2 separate regions of the Homo sapiens genome follow, and region 1 is linked to region 2. Evidence: promoter capture Hi-C in 16 types of primary human blood cells and fetal thymus (Javierre and others, 2016). All regions are on one chromosome and are shown on one strand. The core of a region is centred on a gene start or on the middle of the fragment in contact, and the rest is flanking DNA. Distances in the headings are between cores, read along the strand shown.

Evidence for each region. The method cuts DNA at HindIII sites, captures the fragments that hold promoters and counts their contacts. A CHiCAGO score of 5 or more calls a contact.
Region 1: a contact is called between a fragment that was not itself captured here and the fragment with the promoter of CDK19 in region 2, in 1 of 17 cell types (naive CD4 T cells). The highest score is 5.6, in naive CD4 T cells.

Annotation. Positions count from the first base shown.
Region 1 is chr6:111,478,649-111,481,348 of GRCh38, forward strand. The region is part of intron 1 of REV3L (REV3 like, DNA directed polymerase zeta catalytic subunit); the gene reads right to left. Among named protein-coding and RNA genes, the nearest start is that of REV3L, 3.2 kb to the right of the region's middle. RefSeq lists an enhancer at 1-718. The HindIII fragment of the contact is 2,284 bases long and covers 123-2,406 here.
Region 2 is chr6:110,814,081-110,816,780 of GRCh38, forward strand. CDK19 (cyclin dependent kinase 19) reads right to left here and starts at 1,389. Exons shown (of 13, transcript NM_015076.5): 1 at 929-1,389. The coding sequence starts at 1,056. It also overlaps a transcript of AMD1 not described here. RefSeq lists enhancers at 140-249, 484-1,036, 1,610-1,689 and a silencer at 660-969. The HindIII fragment of the contact is 5,084 bases long and covers 1-2,700 here.

The sequences.
Region 1 (2,700 bases), core at 15-2,514, 660 kb after region 2:
ATTCTGGTAGTTTCTTATATTTAATTTTATAAAATATAAACAATGAGAATATATTTATAATTGGATAAGCATCTACATAAACTTATATAGCATTTCAGAATTATCAATTCCTTATGTTGAAAAGCTTGATTTCATGGCTAACAGTATCTAGAACAATCTACCAAAATATTCACTAAGCTAGAGGAAGTGGCAGAGTTCCTTAGAGTAATCTTAAAGACAAGCAGCTCCCTCTATAGTCTGTCTGGCCTACTTTGTTTAATTCCTTGCTTTGTGGACATCCCACACTCTTCTATTTACTCCTACTCTGCATCTCAGCAGGGAAGCTCTTTGAAAGGATAGTTCTGTTTAACCTGGTGCTGAGGAAACTGTGAGAGCTGTCTAAACTCAGCATGAAGTGAGTTACATCAAGCAACTAAGCAAAAGTCGAGATGTGGAAAATGGACAGCTTCCCAAGTCCACCTCAGTCAAATCCTTAAATGAAGCCTGATGATTTCATTTGTAGTGAATCCTCTGAGTGGTCACACCTATATTCAAATCTAAATGAAAAAACATTGTCCTATACTTTATTCACAACCTTTCTTCCCTCCATTAAAACAAGTTACCAAAATGTTGTTCTAAAAGAAAAAATTAACAATTTATTCTACAAATGATACTGCTCAATTTGATTATGTCAAAATAATGTTCAAGACATTTTAAAAACTAGTTAAAAAAATGGAGAGGAAATTTGTTTTTGTTTTTTAAAAAATTCCATAACTCAGATGAAGAAACTTTAAGTGATTCCCTTAGGAATCAATATCCTCAGTTGGCAAGGGATTAAATCAGTCAGGATTTACCATTCAAATCTGAATATCCCCCCCCGCCTTTTTTTTTTTTTTTTTTAAGACAGGCTCTTGCTCTGTTGCCCAGGCTGGAGTGCAGTGGCGTGATCTTGGCTCACTGCAGCCTCAACCTTCTGGGCTGAAGCGATTCTCCTGTCTCAGCTTTCCAAATAGCTAGTACTACAGGTGCACACCACCACGCCCAGCCAATTTTGTTTGTTTGTTTGTTTGTTTTGTACAGACTATGTCGCCCAGGCTGGTCTCCAACTCCTGGGTTCAAGCGATCCTCCTGCCTCTGTCTTCCAAAGTGTTGGGATTACAGGCATGAGCCACAGCACCCAGCCCTGAATATCCCTCTTTTTAAAAATACCTTTTCAAATTTCACCAACTTAAGACATGGGAGCTTTTAAACCCAAAACACTTTATTTCTTAAATTACTCAAGATACGTCCTCAAAACACAGAACAATCAAAAGTCAACTGGACTGTTTTCTAAAGCAGAAAAATGCTTTTCAGGCAATAATAGAAAAACTAAACTAGTAAAAGGGTATTAATCCAATCAGTTCAGAATTTGTAATATAATTTTGAAACGGCCACTTCATTTGAGAAAAAATATCTTTGGTTGCTATTTTTCAGGATCTCATTTGTAAAGCAAAGTCAATTTTAAAACATTTTCTCTCCAAACCAAAGTAAAGCATTAAGGACCTCCCAAAGTAATTCTTATATATGAAAAAAGTATGTTTATGCTATTTTATGTAGCATAGGTTTATCATGTGTTACACATTTTTATTACCTTATTTTACTTGTTAGTAAAGATATAAACTATAAAGATATAATACAAACCATGTTTATATCTTTGCATTATGTTTACATCTTTACTTTCAAATAAATCTGTCTTCATTAAAAATTCTAGCATTCAGAGTTTTACTAAGTCAGACTGGCCTCTCTTTTATATTAATAATTTTCAAGTTTTATTTTATTGGACTAGTTTTCCTTGGGGAGATAATTCAAAAGCAGGTAATTCTGCAGTTTTTGATTATGTTTAATTAATATTAATCTCACTGGGAGTTTCTGACGTGCTAATAAAAATGCTGGCTTGGTTTATGAAAAGTGTAAACTCTAAATGTATGCCAATGACTTCAAATTTTTTCTTGTTGAAACAAACATTTTGTTGGAAACTGTGAACTACATGGCAAATTCAATTTGATAATCCTTAACAATTTAAAATTTGACTTTCTCTGTATCAAGTTTTATGTCTTTCAATGTACATATAAAAAGTGTTACTTTTTAATTCATTTAAAATATAAATTTCAAAGTATGTACCAAAAAAAAAACCCCAATGGGGGTTTTTAGTCTTTGGTTTTTTCGTTTTTGTTTTTTTTTTTTTTTTTAAGGTGCTGGTAATCTATTGTGGGATGTCCATGAAGGATTAAATAGGAAATAGTTAATGTGTCTTTTAAAAAATATTCAGGAAAACAACAGTATATAATATTCTTTATTTTTTAAGGAACATTTCCTCACGTAATAGAATTACATTAGCTTACAGTGAAACTCATTTATTTCCACAAACGAAACTTTCCTATACAACAAAGCTTGACTATCTCTCAGGAAAACATATTTAATGACTTGTGTGGAGGAGAAAAAATTATGTGTGGAAAAGTAACTCAAACCATACAAGCTGTAATACACAGAAATGCCACAGTATATCCTATTAGCATGTCACTTTATGATTCGGAAATTTGGCTGAACAGGGCCATATCAACTTCACTATTTTATCCTTCCTCTGCATCTGAAGTGAGAACAGTGCATTACACTGAAATTCCAATTGGAAACAAAGACAGCACCACTATATTTAAAAGGGCAGAAAACCTATCTTATAGAACA
Region 2 (2,700 bases), core at 139-2,638:
CAGTAAAGGCTTCCCAAGGTGTTCCTACAGTTCTCCCTCAACTCCTAGGAAAACAAAGGTTCAGGCCCAGCTCTGTCACTTCGTATTCCGTTCTTGATAATATAGGTACTCCATAAGCCCCAGCCCACAGTCATCTGGCAGAGGATGGAGTGGAGGACATAATACCCAAGATACCCAAGGGGCTGCAAGGTAAAGGGTGGGTAGCAGAGAATTCAGCCAACTCTTAAGTTGCCGCTTGCGAAACGCAGCTAGCCCATCAGGTCTCCTTCGAAGGGGGAAGGTACGCAATTCAGAATGTGAGAATGAGAAACCCGGGACGCCGGGCATACAACAGGGATGGGAGGACTGCATAGAGAAGCCAACGGGCCGGCCAGCCCGAAGGGCGGAGATCGCTGCTGGGGGCGGCGGTGCCCAGCGGGTCAGAGCCGTGGGGCTGGCGAGGACCCCAGGCCGCGTTCGCCCGACAGGCTCCCCGGCGAGGTTTCAAACCGCCGCCCCCGCGAGGCGCTCAGCCGATTGGAAGTTCCACAACGACCGTCACTACCCAGGGCCGGAGCGGCAACTCCGCAGCGGAGCTCTGCCTGCCCGCTGCGTTCCCCCAAGAGACTAGACCCCACAAACTCCTCCTCCACCGCGGTCCCAACTCGAGTCCCCCCGCCGTCTCCGAGCACTCGGAGGGCGCCCCTCTGGGACGGGACCGACGCCTCGGACCGGGCTGCGCCGCGGGAGTTCGAGGTACGCGACGGGGCCGCGCGGGGGAGGCGGGCGGAACGGGCGCCCCTCGGAGTCGGTGTCCGGACGCAACCCCGCGACCCCCTCCGCCTCGCCCCTCGGGCACGGCCCGACTGGGATCCGACCCACCCATCCCGCCAGGTCGCGGGCAGGGCGAGGACCCGAGCGAGCCTACTCCTCCCGCCCCTGCTCTTACCCATCTTTCCGCCTCGCCTTGTAGACGTGACCGTAGGTGCCGCGTCCCACTTTGCACCCTTCGTACTCAAACAAATCCTCCACCCGCTCCCGCTCCGCCGCCAGCTTCGCCTTGAAATCATAATCCATTGTCTGCTTCCCCCATAGAGGCACGGGACGCGGGGGCCGCCGCCGCTCAGTCCCTCCTCCTCCTCCCCCCGCGACCGCCGCTCCACTTCTCCAACAGCCGCCTCTCGCGCGCGCGCGCGCGCCGCCCGCCGCCCGCCGCTCCGCGGTCCGCCTTCAGCAAGGGACTCCTCGGCGGCCACAGCAGCCACCTCCTCCACCTCTTCCTCCTCCTCCTCCGCGACGGCGGCGGCGGCTCCCGCAGGCACCCCCAGTCCCGCCTCCCTCCTTCATTTCCTTGTTTTGGAACCTGGTGGGCCGCGCCGTGGCTTCCTCGAGCTCATTAGCGAACTCACTGGCCCGCCCCATGGTCGCGGAGGCTCCTGGGAAATGAAGTCGCGAAGGCCTCAGCGGCCTGGGCGGTTTTGCCGGCGTAAGAAATACAGCTCCCAGGTTACCTCGGGCCACCACAGCCTCGCCCCCACAAAGCATGCGCGCCTGCGTACCAGGGCCGCCCCTCCCCCTCAGGTAGCGCACGGCTCCCGGTTCCTGTGAAGGTAGAAAGCTCGAAGTTCCAGTGTGCTTTCTGCGGTTCTCGGGGAGACACTGGAAAGAAGTGCCTTACTCTAGTGGGAAGGGGATACTTCACTGTAACTAGCCCCACGCAGAGAGTATGGAAAGCATTAAATCAGCACCTTGCTGAAGGGTTGGCTGCAGTGACTCGGGAGGCGAGGGCTGGTGAGGACAGTTGTACCGCAGCTTGTTTCTTTTCTAGGGCAGTGGGTCCGCCTATTGCCCCGCCCCCCGTCCCGCTGCTCATTGGCGGGGGCTGGAGAATGACGTCCTCGTTGGTGCGTGGGTATCCCCAGGCTTTGGCTTCTTTCCCGCTCTTGATTGGTGATTGGATGTGCTCGGTTCTTCCTGATAGGTTGATCTTTTTTCTTTACGATGCAAAAACCGTATTTCAAAAACTGAACCTTCAGCAGTTTCCTAGAGCCTGCCTTGGCCAGAGGAGAACATGCAACTTCTGAGCCCCAGCAGCCAATCATCATTTTCTTGGCGCTGTAGTCAGCTTTCTCTTAGCATATGCGGTTCCCATAACCAGGCTTTGGCCATCTGTCTAAGGACAATTAAAAGTGCCTGGAGGAAGCCGCGTTTACGATCCTTTGGGTTGAATTGTAAAGGATTTTTTATGGTCTATGCATGATGTGAGGTTCTAGAATGTTTAAGAAAGCCCCTTTAGTTAGGGTGAACGTTGATTGATTTCATTGTGTTGGGGCTCAGGACACACTACCCCAAATTATAACTGAAGGAGTCCAGAATATGCCACCCCAAAATACGCCACTCTGGCATATTGATGTCTTTTAGCAAAATAAATTAAGATCCAGCCAACACAGGAAAATGCTTCACTTATCCCACTACTGCCTAAAATAAAGAATAACTCTTCCTTTGTAAAGAGAAATTTACATTTCTAAAGGAAATTTTCGTAATTAAAGGAATCTTACCAGAAAGAGAGCTGCTGCTAGTCAACTTGTATCATCTGAGATACTTTTATCTGCATAAAAGTCAACCTTTATTCACCTTAGACATTTTTTCCTCTTATCCTCTCTTAACTTGTCTCCACCACTCCTGGAAGCCCCAAACCCCACTTTTGTTTTGAAGAGACTG